Regions from separate parts of the Homo sapiens genome. Here regions 1 and 2 are each linked to region 3. The links are contacts of gene promoters, found by promoter capture Hi-C in blood cells and fetal thymus (Javierre and others, 2016). All regions are on one chromosome and are shown on one strand. The core of a region is centred on a gene start or on the middle of the fragment in contact, and the rest is flanking DNA. Distances in the headings are between cores, read along the strand shown.

What was found. Contacts are between HindIII fragments. The CHiCAGO score rates a contact against its expected background, and 5 or more counts as called.
Region 1: a contact is called between a fragment that was not itself captured here and the fragment with the promoter of CMA1 in region 3, in 1 of 17 cell types (M2 macrophages). The highest score is 5.2, in M2 macrophages.
Region 2: a contact is called between a fragment that was not itself captured here and the fragment with the promoter of CMA1 in region 3, in 1 of 17 cell types (M0 macrophages). The highest score is 6.0, in M0 macrophages.

Annotation. Positions count from the first base shown.
Region 1 is chr14:24,657,293-24,660,528 of GRCh38, forward strand. No RefSeq gene overlaps it. Among named protein-coding and RNA genes, the nearest start is that of GZMB, 25 kb to the left of the region's middle. The HindIII fragment of the contact is 9,501 bases long and covers 1-3,236 here.
Region 2 is chr14:24,683,377-24,686,603 of GRCh38, forward strand. No RefSeq gene overlaps it. Among named protein-coding and RNA genes, the nearest start is that of GZMB, 51 kb to the left of the region's middle. The HindIII fragment of the contact is 2,273 bases long and covers 212-2,484 here.
Region 3 is chr14:24,506,552-24,509,934 of GRCh38, forward strand. CMA1 (chymase 1) reads right to left here and starts at 1,714. Exons shown (of 5, transcript NM_001836.5): 1 at 1,627-1,714; 2 at 805-955; 3 at 1-53. The coding sequence starts at 1,684. RefSeq lists an enhancer at 323-1,522. The HindIII fragment of the contact is 2,718 bases long and covers 1-2,708 here.

The DNA.
Region 1 (3,236 bases), core at 216-2,715, 150 kb after region 3:
GCCAAGAGTTCCATTCGTTTTTGAAGGAAAACTGAGAAAGAAGAGGAACTGAGATTCCTAGTAATTCTGGGATATTATTCCCTGTGGATAAACCCCACTTTGGTCCCCTCATCAAGAAAGGTTTGTGCCTTAGTCTTCACGGTCCAGGACCAGGCTCTCTAAGTCATCTGCTAACTTAATGTTCCATGACTAAACAAGCAGTACTATTTCTTTCCTTTTTTCTTCCTCTCAGTTGGTGCTCCATCTATACCAGGTTGCTACTTCATGTTTGGACTTGGATGAAACAGCATACTATAAGGCATGAAACCTGGCTTCCTGAGTGACAGCTGAGAGGAGAGATGTAGCTGAACCAATCAGCTACAACGTCATTCCAGTGTCCATACTTACATAGTGGAAAATCCTCTAAAGCCCACTTCTGAGAGAACACTAATTTCTAGATTTCACATTTCCCGAATCCCGTATAAGATCAGTTCTTTCTTGGTTCAGAGGCACTACTTTACAAATATTGTTCTCCCTTGCCTAGCGAGCAATAAACTTAGCTTTTTGTTTCAGACACTGAATGCTATTCTTTCCTGTGACACTCCTTGAGATTGTTCTAGAGAAGTAAGTCCCACATGCTGAATGTCCGAGCTTGCTAAGCAACTTGCCTTGTCTCTTAGCAGCTTGTTGTGAAGTAGTGGGCAGCTATGGTACTATAACACACCAAACTGCATGGCATCTTTACTTGACTCATTCTTTTTCCTCACTATCATTGCCCTGGATTTGTACCTCCCAAACAAATTGTTATCATTTTTATCCTTGCTTCAGGCTCTGCTTTTATAGGAGTCCGGATAGGACAAAGTGGGAAAGTACAATTTTTGATACTTCTTCCTTTGTCTCAGGCTGGAAGTTAAAAGGTAAGACAGAATCTTCTCATAAATTAAAACAAGATAATTTCCTTGGACATCATGCCATTAATTTTGTTTTTCTCAGCTGAGTGAGGTGGTGTGTCCTATAGTACCAGCTATTCAAGAAGCTGAGACGGGAGGATTGCTTGAGCCTGGGTGTTTGAGGCTGTAGTGTACTATGATCATGCCTGTGAATAACCACTGCACAACATAGCAAGACCCTATTTCTAAAAGAAAAACAAAAAGTCTTTTATCTCCTGGAACTCTTTAAATATTTCTCCCCTCTGTTTAACTAAGGTATGTGATAAGAGGGTCTTTTCTTTTTCCCTTTTACAATATGTTTCTGGGAGACTGACCAGGAATTTCACCTAAATACTTCCCATTGGTAGAGTAAAGCCAGCATTGCAGCCTTATAAAGAACATTCTGAGATTCTCAGCCCAAGTGAGGGAAGGAAGACTGTCTTGTGCTTTGATATGGTTTGGCTCTGTGTCCATTGTAAGTTTCCTGAGGCCTCCCCAGCCATGCAGAACTGTGAGTCAATTAAACTTCTTTTCTTTATAAATTACCCAGTCTCGGGTATTTCTTCATGGTAATGTGAGAACGAACTCATACATGCCTTCTACAGGCAAAGCACATCATTGGGAAAATGAGATGTCTATATTGGCAAATAATTTAGTGACAAAGGAAGAGCTGTGGCTCAGTCCTCCAGAAGAAACTGCTGGTCTCAAAAGAGACTGTCTTTTCTTTCACACTTCCATATACTTCATTATTCTTGTATTGCAGTTATGTGATTATCCAACCAGACAGTGATGGCAACAACAGCCAAGGAATAATTGAATGTCCACTATGGCGTGCTCAATGACAGTCTTGAGGACAATGGAGAGCTTTTATGTTGTCAGGGAATGATGCAGATGTTAGGAAATGATGCAAAATACACAAGATGTGGATGTTAAGGCATGGGATGAGTATGGAGTCATAAGGAGAGAGGTAGTGAGAAACCGATAGTTTGTAAGTTACTTAGTAGATACTCAGAAGACTGTTGAAGGATGAGTGATAGAATAAAAGAGTGACTTTCCAGTAGCTTCTTGAGATCTCCAGTGAATCAGGCTTGGAGGAAACTTAGAATGAATTAATTATCTGCAAGTGAATTTTTGCATTTTTCTAAGTTTATGCAGCAAATCCATGCAACTTTTTATGTCTCTCCACAGATTATTTGATTTCTGACATTTGATCTCATCCCCTTTGTCTACGTTTTAATGGTTGTTTTTAAATTGAGTGATGTTCAGGCCCCTTCCTGCATATCTCTACCTTCCATCATTAAGGCTCCTTTCTAGGAACATGACATTCTAAAATGAAGACTAATTGTTTATCTTCAGTGTTGCCTTTTTATATAAAGAATAGATTTTCATCTTTAGGAATTCCACTAACTGTCTTTATTTTATGTAATTTCCATGCCAGTTTTTTCTTTATTATAAAGATTTCTTAGCCGGGAACGGTGGCTCACACCTATAATCTCAGCACTTTTGGAGGCTGAGGCAGGTGGATCGTGGTCAGGAGTTCAAGACCAACCTGGCCAAGATGGTGAAACCCTGTCTACTAAAAATGCAAAAAAAATTAGCTGGGCATGATGGAAGGTGCCTGTAATCTCAGCTACTGAGGAGGCTGAGGCAGAGAGCTGCTTGAACCCGGGAGCCGGAGGTTGTAGTGAGTGGAGATCGTGCCACTGCACTGCAGTCCGGGTGACGGAGTGAGACTCCATTTCAAAAAAAAAAAAAGTTTCTTTATTATAAAACGATTGCACACTACATGCCTGATGCTTCACCTCAACGTTTGCCTCTGGCATCTTGCTTCCAACCTGAACTCTGACCAGATGAAAGGGAGGAGGGCACAAATGATACACTTGGGGAAACCTGCAACAGGCAGACACCAGGAGCTTGGTGGGTGGAATCCATGTGTGAAAACCCTCTGTGCTATGGCTTTCAGATGGATGGTAGACCTTCCAACGTGGCCTGAGTTAGTCATGATAAAAAACCTTGGCAACATTTTCAGTGCCCTAAATTTGATAAAAACAAGATAATACCTTGAAGAAATGTCATAGAAAGATGAAAAATATTGAGGGAATGAGTTAGGGCTGTGAACGTACTGTGATTACTCAATAACCACAAACTTGCAATTAACTGCTGTAACCACAAATCACCCTTCTAGGGTTCGCTGTGTAGAAAGAGCCGTTGATTTTTTATAGTCACTGTAGCCACAGCTGGAACCTCATAAAGAGTTCATGGTGGGCCTTCGATCAAAGCTGGAGATGCTATTTCTTGCAAATTATGAATCTTTCTGTTGCTGTGAGC
Region 2 (3,227 bases), core at 98-2,597, 180 kb after region 3:
GTAGCAGGTAGCCCCAATATCTCACTGCCTTACAAAAACGATTTATTTCTTGACCATTTACGCTAAGGCTGTGGGTCAGCTGTGGCTCTGCTTAGCTTTGCTAAACTCAGTGTGACTTATCCTAGATTGAAGAGCCCTTTTCTGGAATACGTTGTCTTATTGTGGAAAATAGAGCAAGAGAGTGCAACACAAACCATGAAATCATATTTAAAGCTTTTTCTCAGATATGTACATGTCCTCACATCTTATTAACTGAATTATTTCATGTATCCAAATATGTGAAGTGGAGACACATTGTCTCTCCGAAGAGGGAAGACAACTCACATGACAGAAAGTGAGTGAGGATAAATCATCCTATTAGACTATGGGAACAAATAATTGGGAATAATAATCTATCATGATCCAACATTGATCACATATATTTTCTTCCCTCAGAATACATCATATTCTTGCCCATAAAAACTTAGCCTAAGGGCTGGCTGACACCTGTGATTCCAGCACTTTGGGAGGTTGAGGCAGGAGGATCACTTGAGCCCAGGAGGTTGAGGTTGCTGTGAGCTGTGATCACACCACTGCACTCCAGCCTGTGTGACAGAAAAAGACCCCATCTCTAAAGTCATTTAAAAGCAAATTAGCCTAAGGGCCAACTTTGCTTTTCAAATAGTCACAGACTGGCAGCACTTTTGACAACCTAACTCTCTCAAACACTTTGTTGTATTGTTTTAATCTATTTGGTACTGGTTGGATCCATGTTCCAATAGACACAACCATTACTCATTTCAAGAAAGACTTTCTCTAGACTTGATTATGGGTATGTGGGTATATCATGCTTTCATAGGAACGTACTCTTGATCTCTTTTCCCTGAGCCGTTTTGTCCAGTGGTGGAAAAAAAAATGTCTGCAAGTCACCTTAATCCAACCAGAAATCTTAACATAGGCCTGATGATGACACCTTTGGTTCTGTCTTTGCCCTGAGATGGAGTATTAAAAGGCCTTTCTATTTCAAGGAATACTTAAATTTTATATTTTATAGGTGGGAGGTGAGAAGGATTTTATTGTCCAAACTTGAAGGCCCAGAATTTCTTTGCTGCCTATTTTCCATCTCATTCATTGAAATAGGTGAATTCTTTCTGAGCTCACCTCTTATTCATATTACCATCATGCTCTCTTTCAATTTTTCAATCCTTCTATATTTGTCCATATGCAGCAAGTCCATTAGGAACATTATCTGCCTTCCAAGTTTAGAAGACACAATTTGACCAAACTTTTCACGACTGCATATCATGAATCTTACTTGTCCAACCTCCTGGAAGAATTCCCTTGCTACCTAGCCCTAAAGTTAATGCCTCATATTTTATATTTTTAGATATGGTAGCACTTCTGTTACCAATTTTTTTATTAGTTGGCCTTTACTGAGGTTGCAAATAACTCCAACATATCAGTATTTAACAACAATAAACATTTATTGATTTCTTGTTCATGTTACATGAGGGCTGAGGGATTATCTGTGACTCAGCTCAGCTTGACTGTGTTCAAGTCCATGCGTCTTTTTATTTCAGGACCCAGAACTGATGTAGCCACCCTTATCTTGGACATATTGTTCTTATAGTGTGGAGAGCAGGAACAATAGAAACAGAGGTAAACCAGATAATCACATCAGAAACTTCTAGTTTGACATAGGAAACTTACATCTGGGTGGCCAGAACATGCTCATAAATTCCATGAGGAAGGAAGGTATAGTCATCCCTGGAAGAAAAAGTCACATGACCAGAAAGAGAGCAAATAGCTGGGGTCAATAATACAATCTTCTAAGACTCCCAGATGTATGTCTTTAGCACTGGCATCTCTTCCTTTTGAGCACCAAACATATATTTAACTGCCTACCCAACATTGCTATTGAGATGTCCAATAAGCATCTCAGATTTAATATGCCTTAAACAAAACTCCTGAGTGCTCTGTTCACCCCAACCTGTTATGCCCTGCCTTCCATACCTCAATAAATACCATCAGTATTCTCCCAGGTAATCAGGAGGAAACCTCCAAGTTTTATTTGATTCGCTTTTCCCTTTCATAGTCAATGCATGAGTAAATTCTGCTGGTTCTACCTTCAATATACATCCCGATTTCTTACCATCGCCAGCACCATCATCCTAATAATCTTCTAACTTGTCTCCCTGCTTCTATTCTTGCCTCCCTAGAATAAATTCCTCATACAGAAGACAGAGAGATCTTTGAAGCATGCAAACTATATCTTGTTAGTCCCTGCCCCAAACCCTGCAACGTCCTGGTTCCTACACAGACACTGGGTTTCTATTCTACATGGTCAAGTCAATAGTAGGTTCAGAGTGACAGAAAGATCAGTATTAGAAATTTATACACTTGGGTAAATCAAAAGAAATCTACTTCTCTAAAGGACAGTAAAAGCCCCTGTAGACTACACATCAAATGTATCAGCAACATTTTTCTGGACAAGTGGTGATTGTAAGCTTTTGGATCTCGAAATGTTTCATTAGCTATGAGTTCATGTCCTTTGTAGGGACATGGATGAAATTGGAAACCATCATTCTCAGCAAACTATTGCAAGGACAAAAAACCAAACACCGCATGTTCTCACTCATAGGTGGGAATTGAACAATGAGAACACATGGACACAGGAAGGGGAACATCACACTCTGGGGACTCTTGTGGGGTGGGGGGAGGGGGGAGGGATAGCATTAGGAGATATACCTAATGCTAAATGACGAGTTAATGGGTGCAGCACACCAGCATGTCACATGTATACATATGTAACTAACCTGCACATTGTGCACATGTACCCTAGAACTTAAAGTGTAAAAAAAAAAAAGTTTCATTAGCTAGCCACAGGTCACAGATAGCAATGTCTGAGTGAGTGAGTGTCACATCAGAACATTTGGAAGCTCAACCATCTCATTTTAGGTTCATTAAAAAAATTTGTATACATTTAAGGAGTACAAAGTGCAGTTTTGTTACATGGATATATTGCATAGTGGTCAATTCTGGGCTTTCAGTGTAACCATCACCCAAATAATGTGCATCGTACCCATTAAGTACTTTCTTGTCCCTCACCTCACTTCCACCCTCCCCACTTTATAGTCTCCAATGTGTATCATTCCACACTCTATGTCCATGTGTCCACATTATTTAGTTCCCACTTAAGTGAGAACAAGTGGTATTTGACTTTCTGTTTCTGTGTAGTTTCACTTAAG
Region 3 (3,383 bases), core at 464-2,963:
ATGTGTCTTCTTCCTCTGTTATGTTATGGGCTCCAAGGGTGACTGTTATAGACCTGTTGTGAGGAAGAAGGAAGGAAAAGGAGCGACAGTGATGGCTTGGGGTTTCTTCTGAGGTGAGCTCATTCTGAGAAAAGAGGACTAAACTCTGTCACTGGGTCGCCGGACTCTACCCATCTCCCTTTTCATGGGCCACTTGTGGCATTTGAGGGCTCAGGCTTAACTCATGAAAGAGCTTTCTCAGGAAACAGACACAATTTCTACGACCCCTGGAATTGCTGGGGACTGAACAGGCCAGGGAGGACTCAGGGGACAGGGTTCACACTTCCTAATTCAGGGAACCCTGCATGAGGGCCAGCCCCTGAAGCAGGAGATATCAGTTAAACGGGAAAGTGGGGGTCTCATGTAGACCCTGTTCTCTGCCTCCCATAAAATGATGGGTTCAGGACCCTGAGAACTAGAGGCCAGTGTTCTTGAAAAGGCCATAGAGGAAGTGGCCCTGAGACTGGGTGGGGCCCTGAAAAGTGAGCCGTGTGTCTTGAGTTGGGTAGGGGTGAGGGGTGCTACTGCAACAAGAGGGACCTTGGACAGGACCTCCTTTTCCTCCGAAGGGGAGCTTAGCTCACAGTGACTGAGGCTCAAGGAACTATTCAAACACAGACTAAAGTCTTTCAGCCCAAGTCTTCCCTCTCCTGAAAGTTGACAAGACCCAGGACCCCCTCTTCAGTCCCCAGTGCAGGTGTATTCCTGGATGCTACTCTGGTTGTTCATCTCCCATTTGGAGATAAATAGACCCTGTTGTCTCACCTTCCTGCACAATGAGCAGCCGTCAGCACAAAGTTCCGTCTTATAAGGAAACCACCACAAAATTTTGAGGGACCGTTGGAAGTTACAATTTCCAGGTAGGCCATGTAGGGGCGGGAATGTGGCTTGCATTCTGTGCCCCCGATGATCTCCCCTGGAACAGAGCACCCCAGGGTTTGAACACGGCCATAGATACTCTCTCCAATGAATGGACAAATTGGGTTAAAGCTGAGCTAGGCTTCCCTGGAATCTCATTCTCACCCTGTGTTCCGCCCATCTTCCCTCTCCTGTCTCCTGTATTTCGTATCTTTCCCCACCCATAACCTCCCAGGTGAAATCTCATTCTTGCCTCTGCTCCATTCTGATGTTTTCATCTCAGACTTCTCCCACTCCCACCTTGCCCTGGCCCACCCTCCTCTGTCTCTGTGTAGGACCCACTGTCCAGGTTCCTGTTTTAGATTTCTCCATAGCTCTTGAGCATGGTCACAGAGTGAGAAAGTCACAAAGTAATGGGTAGCCCTGATGCTCAGAAGATTAAGAGGACATGTCTGTTTTCCTGGGGATACCCCTTTTCCTTCCACTTGCTCTGGGCTTTTCTACAATTGAGGTGAAATTCCTTGTTCCTGGGGGCTGTCCTAGGCTGTAGAGAATGGCAGTGGGTGGGGGTGGGGGTGGGGTGGCACACATCCCAAGTGGAAATTTCCCTCTGGGACTCTTGAAGAGAGATCTTGGAACCCTGTTTAGGAGTCAGCTATTTTCAGACTAAACATCTTTGTTTCAGGAGCTGATACTGCAGATTTCAGAGGGAAGAACCCTGATACTCACCAGCTTCAGCTCTGGAGCACAAGAGAAAGAGCAGCAGGGGGAGAGGAAGAAGCAGCATCTTCCCAGAGAGGCTGCCTGAGCAAATGCTGGTTTTCCTTTCCAGTCTTGGGTTTTATAACTCCCAGAAGGCAAGAGAGGGGCAAGGCTGGTAACCACAGGAACTGCATGGTCACGTTTTCTTCTCTCACTCTGAATTGGCTGTTTCTGATCAGAAGTTCCCCTAGAATCACCCAGTGTTTTTCTAGAAAGGAACTTGAGCCCTGAACTCCCAAGTGCTGGCTTCTCAGATGTACCCTCAACTATGGTGACTTTTCTGGAGTTGGGGGCAGGAAATGGAGGGACCATGTTTTTCTTTCCCAATTAGGGCAGCTTGTGAAAGGCCCACTGAACGTTCAGTGCAAAGACTTTTATGGCTATGTTCCATAGTCAGAAATGCATATTGCAGAGTCCCAGTGCATGCACATATGTATGTGTGAGTATGTAAGCACAAATTAAAGGTTTCAGGAAACAATCTTTATCTTAACCATGTGCAGTGTTTTCTGTTAGTTTCCATTCCACTCCACTCCACTCCATTCCACTACACGTCAAAACTTGAGCAACAACCCCATTTAAATGATAATTCCTTGTAATTTGAAAAACATTGACCTGGATCTCTCTCCTCCTCTGAACCACATGTTTTTGACAGAAGAGAGATCCAAGGAGGGTAGATGTGGGAAAAGAACAGACCCTAGGACAGAACTTTATGCAAAGAGCAATTGGGATTGGAATTAGCATTTTCTGAGAGTCTAGGTGTATCATATATTGTCACAACTCTTAGATATATTATTACTTTCACGGCAACCCTATCAATATGTATTACCATTATGATCATTATCATGTCATGATAGTCAATTTTTTAAATCAGCTATCATAGCTTATGGTTCAGAAATAGATTTTCCTGATATCAAATCAAGGTCCCTTTCTGCTCTAGCACTAGAGAGAAATAGAGGAATAGAGTCCTGCCAATGTGCAGGGGAAGTAAAGATGTAGAAGGGTGTTTGCTCCAGAGAGGTTGGGGTTTCCTACTGTTGCATTAAGAATCAAGCTTTCCACAACAACCTGGGGACACACCATTACTGTCACTTTACAATTGTAGAATTGATACTCAGACCCATTAACATGACAAAGATCACACACCTTATAATATCAGAAGTGGGTTTCAAGCACATAGCTTTTATTTTCCCTGGACTTACAGAAAGCAGTCCACATGGTGGACTGTCATTTCTCTTGGAGATTTATAAGGCATTTAGTTCAAAGACGGGGATGAGTAGTGTATAAGTGCCTTTCCCAAATCATCTCACTATGCCCTTGGTCTCAGGTTGGGCTTGTGACCAGAGTGATCCACTCCTTAGTATATATTGGCCAGGTCCTCTGTTGCTTTTAACTTAATTTCCCAAGTTCTACCTACAGCTCTAACTCTCTCTAGAATAAGACATTTAAACACATCCGTAATGTCTTTTCAAATCTGGTCTTCTTAAGTGTCCTTGTACCACTTTCTTCACTCTCTCGGGGGTTGCCAGAGAATATTCAGAATGCCCAGTTAAATTTGTATTTCAGATGAACAACAAATCATTTTTTAGTTAAGTATGTCCAAATATTGAATGGGACACACTAATACTAAAAAATTGTTGTTTATCTAAAATTTGAATTTAACTGGAATCCTGTATTTTTTATTTGCCAAAGTTGGCAACTCTTCTCTGGGCATTTCACCATTAACA